Regions from separate parts of the Homo sapiens genome. Here all the other regions are linked to region 2. The links are contacts of gene promoters, found by promoter capture Hi-C in blood cells and fetal thymus (Javierre and others, 2016). All regions are on one chromosome and are shown on one strand. The core of a region is centred on a gene start or on the middle of the fragment in contact, and the rest is flanking DNA. Distances in the headings are between cores, read along the strand shown. Region 1 holds the start of ALOXE3 (arachidonate epidermal lipoxygenase 3). Region 2 holds the start of SLC25A35 (solute carrier family 25 member 35). Region 3 overlaps ALOXE3 (arachidonate epidermal lipoxygenase 3).

Evidence for each region. Contacts are between HindIII fragments. The CHiCAGO score rates a contact against its expected background, and 5 or more counts as called.
Region 1: the fragment with the promoter of ALOXE3 here is called in contact with the fragment with the promoter of SLC25A35 in region 2 in 14 of 17 cell types (non-activated CD4 T cells, fetal thymus, activated CD4 T cells and 11 more); the score reaches 19.2 in non-activated CD4 T cells.
Region 3: a contact is called between a fragment that was not itself captured here and the fragment with the promoter of SLC25A35 in region 2, in 2 of 17 cell types (activated CD4 T cells and naive CD8 T cells). The highest score is 8.2, in activated CD4 T cells.

What each region holds. Positions count from the first base shown.
Region 1 is chr17:8,117,208-8,121,035 of GRCh38, reverse strand. It overlaps ALOXE3 (arachidonate epidermal lipoxygenase 3), which reads left to right and starts at 2,522. Exons shown (of 16, transcript NM_021628.3): 1 at 2,522-2,550; 2 at 2,733-3,192. The coding sequence starts at 3,046. It overlaps TRK-TTT3-5 (tRNA-Lys (anticodon TTT) 3-5), which reads right to left and starts at 1,881; the gene lies at 1,809-1,881. It overlaps TRQ-CTG1-5 (tRNA-Gln (anticodon CTG) 1-5), which reads right to left and starts at 1,284; the gene lies at 1,213-1,284. It overlaps HES7 (hes family bHLH transcription factor 7), which reads left to right. Exons shown (of 4, transcript NM_001165967.2): 4 at 1-444. It also overlaps TRL-TAG1-1 and TRR-TCT2-1. RefSeq lists silencers at 586-795, 1,166-1,255, 1,386-1,435 and enhancers at 1,956-2,055, 2,206-2,275, 2,356-2,435, 2,157-3,356. The HindIII fragment of the contact is 2,695 bases long and covers 1,210-3,828 here.
Region 2 is chr17:8,293,411-8,297,082 of GRCh38, reverse strand. It overlaps SLC25A35 (solute carrier family 25 member 35), which reads left to right and starts at 1,683. Exons shown (of 5, transcript NM_001320870.2): 1 at 1,683-2,650. The coding sequence starts at 2,276. RefSeq lists enhancers at 1,064-1,193, 1,814-1,863, 1,884-1,963. The HindIII fragment of the contact is 5,205 bases long and covers 1-2,034 here.
Region 3 is chr17:8,100,277-8,104,182 of GRCh38, reverse strand. ALOXE3 (arachidonate epidermal lipoxygenase 3) reads left to right here. Exons shown (of 16, transcript NM_021628.3): 14 at 1-68; 15 at 690-860. Among named protein-coding and RNA genes, the nearest start is that of MIR4314, 14 kb to the right of the region's middle. The HindIII fragment of the contact is 4,448 bases long and covers 1-3,906 here.

The DNA of each region.
Region 1 (3,828 bases), core at 1,273-3,772, 180 kb after region 2:
AAAAGGAAAAATTGAAATAAAATCGACTCTGGTGGGATTCGAACCCACAACCTTTGAATTGCTCTATTCGTCACTAGAAGTCCAATGCGCTATCCATTGCGCCACAGAGCCACCCGACGAACGGCGGCGTCTTGTAGCTTACGGGTACTAGAGTGGGAATGGGGCAGGGTTGGGGAGCGGGGCTAAGGGACTTGGGCGGGACATGCCAGGAGGGCGCGGTTTGGATCTCAGAGGCCAAGCCAGGTAGAGGTAGCGGGCGCAAAGCATGTTAGCCAGGTGAGAGAGAGGGCGCACATGGGTCGAAAAAACAGGGAGGGAGAGCAACCGAAAATGGCTGAGCGAGCGAGTGCAGAGCTCCGGCTGCCCGCTTGGGGGGTGTTTCCGGCTCAGGCGCTCCCCACTCCCAGATATAGTCCCACCCAAATAAACTAGTTTTGTTGTAAATTTCTGTGTGTTTTTGTCTCTTCTCGTTTATCTGTTCTGCCATCTGCTGCTATGCGGTCCACAGTCTCGATGGTTCTTCATTTCCAGTCTAAAAGATGTGGAAAAGGAGACGAATCAATTTGGCACTCTTAAGATTTGCCCCATTCCTTACTTCTAGTCTCTTAGGAGGACAACGGGGACAGTAAGTTTTCGTGCAGGTAGCGTGGCCGAGCGGTCTAAGGCGCTGGATTTAGGCTCCAGTCTCTTCGGAGGCGTGGGTTCGAATCCCACCGCTGCCAGGCTGGAGTTTTTCTGGTGGATTACGCACCTGCTACAGTTCTGTTAACAGTTCTGTGAGGTTACACCTATTTACATGCAGAAAGTAATTTTACGAATTCCCCTGGTAATGGTTTCACCATCATCTTCCGTGTTTGGTCTTCCAGAGAGATCATAGGCCTGCATCCATCCCAGAAGCTAAGACCTGATGGTAACTGCTGAAGCAATATTTCGTTTCTTCATAACATCTCTATTATTTCGTTTCTTCATAACATCTCTATTTTAACATGTTTTCAAATGTTAGCTCAACTTCCAACATATTTAAATAATTTATTGTACGTTCTCTTAACACTGTGTTATAGGACTCAATTATCCGGTAGGAAAAGCACAAATAATTGGTAGTGTCCTAGTTTACTTTTTTTTTTTGTCGTATTATCTTGGGTCATAGGAGTATCCCCTCTGTGAAAATCAATTAACAATATTCAACATGCTGATATTAAAAGAAAAGCTTCAAGGTTCCACCGAGATTTGAACTCGGATCGCTGGATTCAGAGTCCAGAGTGCTAACCATTACACCATGGAACCTCCCTCGTGGTGTCTTTCAAGATTGTGTACATTACTGGACATTCTATTTTGCGTGTCTTCCACACCCGTCACTTAAAACGAAAACAAAACAAAGTCTGCTGTTGGATATGGTAGACACCGTTATCGAGCACTTGAAATATATGAATTCAGATGTATTGCCAGCTTCTAAATACACATCTTCTTTTGAAGGAAGGCTTTGTACAAACAAAAAGACTTAAAATTTCATTAATATTTTTAGAATGTTGATTATATGTTAAAATAAGATTTTGGTATATTAGGGTAAGTAAAATAGATCCGTGAAATTAATTTCGCTTGCTTTTTATTCTTTGTAATGTGGCTACCAGAAAATGTAAATTCGATAATACGGCTCGCGTTTGTACTGTTTTAAAGTATGTTTATTACCCTCCACCGTCGTTTGCTGTATTTTGTGGAAATCAAGTTTCTGTATCACCTAGCTTTAAAAACTAGTAACTATTTTTGTTACCATTTTATGCGAAGTGCGGTACCCAAAAGCAAAGACATGCCGCCCGAACAGGGACTTGAACCCTGGACCCTCAGATTAAAAGTCTGATGCTCTACCGACTGAGCTATCCGGGCTCTTCACGAGAGCTTTACTTTTTGCTTATAAGAGGGTTCTCTATAGGAAAAGCCAGGCTTGTAGAACCGACAGAGGATTTTATCTGTGCAGCATAGAATATTTTGGCACAGATTTGGAAGCAGCGGGTGAAGCTCGCCTGCTGCTGATTGAGCTTTTTCTGCCTCCCGTTCTTAGAGCCCCCGCCGAGGCTGCGACGCAGGGACTGTACCATAGTAGAGGCTGGAACAGTGCGGCGCCGGAACCGGCCGCGCGGGGCCGCTGCGGGCTATGGGCTTCTCTGAGAGGTTCCTCCCCAGTCCCTAGTGGCCCAGATCCCGGACACCTGGGCTCCCGCCCAGGATCCTGCAGGCCCAGGGCGGTCCTGGAGCGGAAAGAATGCCACGCGGGGCATTCAGACCCTGTTTGCCGGCGCTGTATTTCGCTTTCCTGACCTGCCCTACTCCAGAGCAGAGAATGAGGTCGGGCGTGCCAAAGGCTGGGGACAAAGAGGGCCATGCGTGGGGGGATCGGTGTATGGGGTGACAGGGAGCTGTTCCTGACCATTTGACATGTGCTGGAATGCGTGTGCGACTCACCTGCGTGTGGCTGCAGTCACGTGTGATTTATGACCAAGTGCAACTCTCCACTGTTTAGTGATTCACACGGATGATTCACACGTAGGAATGCAGGTGCCCTGTGCTCATCTCTGCCTGGGAATGGGGAGGAACAGATCTTGGGGGACATTGGGGAGTGGGCGGACAAGCACTCCAGGGCATCAGTCCGGGCCGCTGACCAGGCGGAGGGCAGTGTCCCAATTATACAGGCGTTACCTCCTTTTCTCCATCTCAGCATCTGATCCCTCCCTCCGCAGTGGAACCCAGGCTCCTGATATCCATCTGGGTGAGCCAGCCAGAGGGACCGGCTGTGTCAGAGGCAAGCAAACAAGTATTAGAGTGCAAGACTGTGGGCGGAGAGAGGAAGCCCGAGCCGCCAGCAGGGAGCTTCGGAGAGAGAAAGCCCAGGAACATCCCAGAGAGAGCTGGGCCCATCCTCAGCCCTACCCAGCCCCGCAGCCCCTAGCCCTCCGCCCAGAAACCCAGCCCTGTCCGGCGTGCCGCTCTTCTCCTCCAGGCCGGCTGCTGCTGCGGCCAGCGTTGCCGGGGCATCCCTTCCTCCTTCCCATCATGGCAGTGTACCGCCTGTGTGTGACCACTGGTCCCTACCTGAGGGCCGGCACACTGGACAACATCTCTGTCACACTGGTGGGCACGTGTGGTGAAAGCCCCAAGCAGCGGCTAGATCGAATGGGCAGGGACTTCGCCCCTGGATCGGTGAGTACAAAGGAGACAGGGAAGCGCGACCTCAGAGGGGCAGGGGCCGCAGGCGGGAGGAGTATTCCTCCTGGACTCTTGAGATCCTGCTGAACTCAGGATACCGGCCCTGACCTCCTCACCTTCCCTATTGAGGTCCCTGTCTTTCCTGGAGATGATGAACTCCATCCAGGCAGGACTGTGGAGAGGAAGGAGCGTTGGACAGGGAGTAGAGGGACTTCCCCTGGCTCCTAAACTCCTCCCATAATTGACCGTGGGCTTTGGGCAAGTCGCTTCCCCTCTCTGAGCCTGGGTTTCCTCTTATCGAGGGGATCTGCCTGCCTCTGCCAGCCCCAGGTGGCCTCCACAAGAGTTCCCAGCCGGCCTAGGAAGCTAGTGAAATGCAGTGCCCACTGTGCTCGGGCACCTTTTTCTTTTCTTTTTGAGATGGAGTTTTGCTCTTGTTGCCCAGGCTGGAGGGCAGTGGTGTGATCTCAGGTCACTGCAACCTCCACCTCCCGGGTTTAAGCGATTCTCCTGCCTCAGCCTCCCAAGTAGCTGGGATTACAGGCGCCTGCCACGACGCCCGACTAATTTTTTGTATTTTTAGTAGAGAAGCGGTTTCATCGGGCAGGCTGGTCTCAAACTCCTGACCTC
Region 2 (3,672 bases), core at 434-2,933:
TAGCCAAAATGTATGAGACTACACTAGATGTCATCATCTTTGTTTGTTTTTGTTTGTCTTTATGAGATGGAGTCTCCGTCTGTCACCCAGGCTGGAGTGTAGTGGCGCAATCTCGGCTCACTGCAACCTCTGCCTCCTGGGTTCAAGTGATTCTCCTGCCTCAGCCTCCCGAGTAGCTGGGATTACAGGTGCCTGCCACCACACCCGGCTAATTTTTGTAGTTTTAGCAGAGACAGGGTTTCACAATGTTGGCCAGGCTGGTCTCAAACTCCTGACCTCATGTGATCTGCCTGCCTCTGCCTCCCAAAGTGCTGGGATTACAGGCGTGAGCCACCACGCCTGGCCTCATCTTTGTATTTGGATTCAGAACTCATTTTGGTGGTGGCAAGACAACTGGCTTTGGCATGATTTATGATTCACTGGATTATGCAAAGAAAAATAAACCCAAATGCTGACTTCCAAGACATGGCCTGGATGAGAAGAAAAGAACTCAAGAAAGCAATGAAAGGAACACAAGACCAGAATGAAGAAAGGGGGACTGCAAAGGACAGTGTTGGTGTGGCAAAAAGCCAAAGGAGTAAAGATGCTACAGTAACATCTGTGGCCACTGTGGATTTTTCACAAGATTTATAAACTAAAAACTTTTGTGTGCAAAAAAAAATGGATGGGGGTATGCTAAAGAGACACAGGAGCCAACGGAAACAGCTCTCAAAGGCCAAAGCTAGAACGAAATTAGCTAGAAAATAAATATGAAGTATATTGGATTATAACCCAAAGTATAAATGTCCATGAGTCCATACTGATTAAATAAATGGTTGAATAAATAATGGAGGAGTAGAGACAAATATCTCATATGAAAGAACTCCAGGCCAGGGATGGTGGCTCACGCCTGTAATCCCAGCACTTTGGGAGGCTGAGGCGGGTGGATCACGAGGTCAGGAGATCGAGACCATCCTGGCTAACACGGTGGTCTCTATTAAAAATACAAAAAATAAGCCGGGCGTGGTGGCGGGCACCTGTAGTCCCAGCTACTTGGGAGGCTGAGGCAGGAGAATGGCGTGAACCCGGGAGGCGGAGCTCTCAGTGAGCTAAGATCGCGCCACTGCACTCCAGCCTGGGCGACAGAGCGAGACTCCGTCTCAAAAAAAATAAAAAATAAAAATAAAGAGCCTAAGGACTAAGGATTTAATTAACCAAGCACCAACCCGTGCAGCCTCAGGAGACTGGTCCCGCAGCGCAAGTGTGTCCCTCTACCCCCCGCAAGCCGGGCCGCGTCTTCCTGGCTCTCCTGGCGCCGGCACCGAGCAGGGCGTGGACCTGAACTTATGTGACCCCACCCGGTCACAACCCGGGGTAGGAAGCTAAAGCCGTCCGCCCACCCGAGGGGCGGTCCCAGCACCCCAGTGGGGGACTGCTGCGCTCGGCCTCTGTGTTCGATCGGGAACCCAGGTCTCTTCCCTGCCAATAACAAAACCGCCGCGTCCCGGGCCTCCCTTCCGGAGCCGGAGTCGGCGGCCGAGCGCTGGTGGCGGAGCCTGGACAGTTAATTCCAACCGCCTCCGGGTGATTCCGGGGACAGGAGCGCCGAGAGCTCCTCCCTTTGGCCGCGGAGCCGGCTCGGCGCTGATTGGCTGAGGGCCTCGGTTGTGGCTCTTGAAGGCTCCCCATTGGCCCCGCGCTCCAGTGGCAGGAGTGTGGCGGCCCGGCCTCCGCAGGCTACCCGGGGTTGAAGCTACTGCGAGCTCCGGTGGCTGCCTGGGGACGCTCAGGGACGCTCATTCCTGGCCAGAGTCCTGACTTCTTTCTCGGATCGAGATCTCGTTGCTGGCTCGAGGAAATCACCGGCTCTTCTCCCGGATCCTTTTCTTCTCTCACTTGCTGGCTTTCTTCTTCCTGCCTCCCTGGCTTCCATCTCCCAACCCCGCGATTCCCTCCTCTACTCCCGTGCTCCCGTCGCCCGCCATCCTGAGCCATCCCACCTGCAACCTTCTGTCTTTTGCCCCTCCTTGACCTCAGAGGGTCCTGCCTTAAGCTTCTCACCAGAATCTCCTAGATTTCTATCTCTTCCCTGCTTGCCAGCTCTTGACTCCCAAATTCCAGCTGACGTTTGACCACTTGACATTTGACCCTGACACCCTTGACTGCAAATCTAAATTCTTATCTTCTGCAACCTGTACTGCTGAAACAGGCCTTCCCCCTGTCTTCCAACCCCGCTTTCTGACACCCATTTTTACTTTCTTACTCTTGGGTCAGTTCCTGCTACAGCTATCCCACCATGGACTTCTTGATGAGTGGCCTGGCAGCCTGCGGGGCCTGTGTATTCACCAATCCCCTGGAGGTGGTGAAGACCAGGATGCAGTTGCAAGGAGAACTGCAGGCCCCTGGCACATACCAGCGGCACTACCGAAATGTCTTCCATGCCTTCATCACCATCGGCAAGGTGGATGGCCTTGCTGCCCTGCAGAAAGGCCTGGCCCCCGCCCTCTTGTACCAGTTCCTGATGAATGGCATCCGACTGGGCACCTATGGGCTGGCTGAGGCTGGGGGCTACCTGCACACAGCCGAAGGCACCCACAGTCCTGCCCGCAGCGCAGCAGCTGGGGCCATGGCTGGGGTCATGGGAGCCTACTTGGGGAGCCCCATCTACATGGTAAGAAGAGGGCTCTTGCCTGGGACCTTCAGGGCAGATCCTCGTTGTAGGATAGGAGCTGTTCTTTCCCAAGGGCATAGGTGGCAGAGTGCTGCCCCACTGCAAGCAGGGAAAGGCATCAGGAAAGTGCTGGTAGGCTTCGGAGTCTTCTGATCTGCCCTATACACACCCATCTGATGGACACGATTGAATGTATTGATTAAGATTATGGGCTTTGGGGCCGGGTGCAGTGGTTCACACCTGTAATCCCAGCACTTTGGGAGGCCAAGGCGGGCGGATCACGAGGTCAGGAGATGGAGACCATCCTGGCTAACACAGTGAAACCCCGTCTCTACTAAAAATACAAAAAATTAGCCGGGTGCGGTGGTGGGCGCCTGTAGTCCCAGCTACTCGGGAGGCTGAGGCAGGAGAATGGCATGAACCCGGGAGGCGGAGCTTGCAGTGAGCCGAGATCCGGTCACTGCACTCCAGCCTGGGCCACAGAGCAAGGCTACGTCTCACAAAAAAAAAAAAAAAAGATTATGGGCTTTGGAATCAGACTTTCTGGAACTAAAATCCTGGCTTTGAAAATTACTAGTTGTTGGCCGGGCGCGGTGGCTCACGCCAGTAATCCCAGCACTTTGGGAGGCCGAGGCGGGCGGATCACGAGGTCAGGAGATGGAGACCATCCTGGCTAACACGGTGAAACCCCGTCTCTACTAAAAATACAAAAAATTAGCCGGGCGTGGTGGTGGGCGCCTGTAGTCCCAGCTACTCCGGAGGCTGAGGCAGGAGAATGGCCTAAACCCAGGAGGCGGAGCTTGCAGTGAGCTGAGATCCGGCCACTGCACTCCAGCCTGGGCCAGAGAGAGAGACTCCGTCTCAAAAAAAAAAAAAAAAAGAAAAGAAAGAAAATTACTAGTTGTTGAGCTTCAGTTGCCACATCTGTAAAATGGTGATAATTATAGTGCCCTTTCTGTGTGATTATTGGGAGGATCGAGGGAGACAAATGCGGTAGACATGAAAGCATTAGTGCGAATCCT
Region 3 (3,906 bases), core at 486-2,985, 190 kb after region 2:
TGGTGAAGTTCCTCACTGCAATCATCTTCAATTGCTCTGCCCAGCACGCTGCTGTCAACAGTGGGCAGGTGAGGCTACAAAGGGCAGGCCTGGGGACATCAGGTCTCAGCAATGGACTTGAGGCCTGAATTTGGGTTGAGAGCTTGGGTGGGTCAGCGTTGGGGTGGGTTTATGATTAGACTTGGGGTTGGAGTGGCAGCTGAGTGGGGTGAAGGGTTGGCATTGGGTGATGACTGGGTGGAGCTGGGTCCAAGGTTGTAATGGTGATTCAAGTTGATGTTAATTTGGGAGAAGAACTTAGGGGCTCCTCTCATGGTTAGAACCCAGCCAGGTGGAGTAGCAGCTTGCTCTGTGTGGCATGGCAACCCAAGGCCCTTTTCTAGGATTACCTCCACTCTGGGGCCACCTCCTTCCCTAGTGACTCACCCCACCGAGTCCTGGAACACTGGGCGGGGAGTGACAAGGAGTAAGCTGGCTTCCTGCCCCACTTCTGGGACTTTCCACTCCCTACCCTTTCCTCTCTTGCCTTTCCATGATCCCCTCATTTCCCAGCTCTCTTGCCTTTCCGTGATCCCCTCATTTCCCAACTATCACCTCTAGGACGGCAGAGGTGGAATCAGGGATGGTGAAGAGGGAGGTGATACTCCCCTTCTGGCCAACTGACCCAACTGGGATGGGGGTCTCCACAGCATGACTTTGGGGCCTGGATGCCCAATGCTCCATCATCCATGAGGCAGCCCCCACCCCAGACCAAGGGGACCACCACCCTGAAGACTTACCTAGACACCCTCCCTGAAGTGAACATCAGCTGTAACAACCTCCTCCTCTTCTGGTTGGTTAGCCAAGAACCCAAGGACCAGGTGTGTATACGGGATGTTGAGGGGAGTAGGGTTCTTTAGGGCCACCAGTAGGGGTGGTGGTGGCTTCGTCTGGGGGCTTGAGGACTGATCGACGGGATTTATGTTCACTGCAGAACTGCCTTGGGTTCTTCAATTTCTTCAGAAAATGATAATCCCAAAAGACATAGACTGAAGCAAATACCAGTTTAGTTACCAATCTGTCCGTCCATCCATTTATCCGAATGTTCATTCATCAACTACTCATGTGTTAATGCAAACATTCAATAAACATTTGTTGGATACTTCCTATGTGTCCACACAGCACTGGGCACCAGGCCTATAACGCTGGCTGAGACCTTCCTGCCTTCAAGAAGCCTGTGGTCTAGTTGAGGAGACATACAGGTCAATGAAAAAGGGCACCACCGTGTTGTAGGAGTTACTTATATGTTAATTTCTCCATTCAACACACACTTCCTGAGTACCAGTGGTGACCCAGACACTGTTATGGGCAGCTATGAAACTTGTCCATGTGAGCTTACAGTCCAGTGATAGGGGTAAGGACAGGGCCCTGAGGAACCTAAATGGGTCTGGGGGAACCCAGGAAGGCTTCTTGGAGAAAGTGACATCTAAGTTGAAATCTGCAGGACAAGTAGGAGTTGGACAGAGAGGAAGAGCAGGGCTCTTTTTTAGGGAGGGGGAAGAACAGGACCAAGGAGCGAAGGCGAGAAATCACTGGTGTGTTTGTAGGATCACAAATGGAAATAGCAGAGCGGAGAGGAAGGTAGGGCTTTGTCTGCACAGTGTTCGTTTAGAAGACAAAGGGTAGCCAATCAAGGCTTCCCCCACCCCCCCACATGGAGTCTTGCTCTGTCACCCAGGCTGGAGTGCAATGGTGCGATATCAGCTCACTGCAACCTCCGCCTCCCAGGTTTAAGCGATTCTCCTGCCTCAGCCTCCCGAGTAGCTGGGATTACAGGCACCCACCACTGTGCCCAGCTAATTTTTGTATTTTTAGTAGAGATGGGGTTTCACCATGTTGGCCAGGCTGGTCTCGAATTCCTGACCTTGTGATCCACCCATCTTGGCCTCCCAAAGTGCTGGAATTACAGGTGTGAGCCACCGCGCACGGCCGCCAATCAAGACTTTTAAGCCTGAGGCCCAATGGTTAAATCTGCTTTAGCTAGGGTGCTCCTGTGGCTGCGTGAATGGATGCAAAGGGCAACTTTGGAGGCAGGAGGCTAGAGAGGGGCCAATATCTGAGTTTAGGCCAGGCAAGTAGCCCTTTATCACTGGTTCCCATCATCTTTGTTTCCACCCAGCCGTCTTGCACACAAGCTCTCTAACAGGTGAATATTCTTATTTCTCACGCTTGACTCCCTTTGGTGCTGGAAAGATTCCAGATGTTGCTGGGCACAGTGGCTCGTGCCTGCAATCCCAGCACTTTGGGAGGCTGAGGCCGGTGGATTGCTTGAGCCTAGGAATTCAAGAGCAGCCTAGGAAACATGGTGAAACCCTGTCTCTACCCAAAACACAAAAATTAATCGGGCGTATTAGTGTGTGCCTGTGGTCCCAGCTGCTTGGGGGGAGCTAAAGTGGGAGGATCACTTGAGCCCAGGAAGTAAAAAAATGCAGTGAGCCATGTTCACGCCACTGCACGCCAGCCTGGGTGACACAAAAACAAAAAACAAAAAACAAAAAAACAACAAAAAAAGAAAGATCCCACATATTTGATCTTCCTGGCAAGTTTTAACTTGCTACCTTATATCCTGGGAATGGCAGGACTCTGGGTCCTGTCCCTATCTGGTCCCAGAGGGATGACAGATAAGTAGACAACAGCATGAGGGTGGAGGGCTCTCTCCTATAAACTATAGAAAGTTTAACTTGGAAATTTATAACAACAATAATAATGGCAGCTGTCACTGAGGAGCCATCATGTCTCAGTTATTAAATCAGATCCTTTGTGTACATGATTTTAAAATGTGAACCAAATACATAGCTCTATTTAAAATGCTTGGCAGCCAGGCGTGGTGGCTCACGCCTGTAATCCCAGCACATTGGGAGGCCGAGGTGGGTGGATCACCTGAGGTCAGGAGTTCGAGATCAGCCTGGCCAACATGGTGAAACCCCCATCTCTACTAAAAATACAAAAATTAGGTGGGCATGATGATGCATGCCTGTAACCCAGCTACTCAGAAGGCTGAGGTAAGAGAATCACTTAAACCCGGGAGGCAGAGGTTGCAGTGAGCTGAGATGGTACCACTGAACTCCAGCCTGGGCAACAAGAGTGAAGTTCCATCTCAAAAAAAAAAAAACAAAAAAAAAGCAGCTTGGCACCGTGCTGGCATATAAATGTTCAATAAATGGTAGTTCCACTTCACAGGGGAGAAAACTGAGGTTCAGGGAGATTCAGCAATTTGTTCAACAGCACAGAGCTAGTAAGTAGGCTTTGAATCCAGTGTCATATTTCTGTCTTCTGCTGTGTTTTCTCTTTCTTTCTCTGGTGTGTGTGTGTGTTCTGTTTTTTTGATGGCTATACTACAGTTTTAGAAATCAAGTATTAAGCCAGGTGCAATGGCACAGGCCTGTAGTCCCAGCTACTCAGGAGGCCGCAGAGAGAGGATTCCTAGAGGCTAGGAGTTCAAGGCTGCAGTGTGCATGACCATGCCTGTGAATAGCCACTGCACTTCAGCCTGGGCCACATAACAAGACCCCATCTTTAAGAAAGAAAAGAAAAAAAGAAATTAGATGTCAATCTGATTTTAAAAACATAAAACTTGTTATTTCAAAAAAAACCACAATACAATAAAATAAAAAAACTACAGACATATTTCTTTTTTCTTAAGATTCTCTGGATCAGAAATTTGGGCAGGGCTAGGCTGGGCAGTCCAGAGGGTACTGGCTAGGGTGAAACACTTGCATGCAATCAGCTGGTGACTGGGCTGTGCTGGAAGTTCCCAGAAGGCTTTGCTCACATGTCTGGGGCCTCAGTGCACCTGTGTGGTTTTTCTCTCTCTCCATATGCTGTCTTATCCCCCAGGACTCTCCAAGGGGTCTCTCCCCAGCAGGA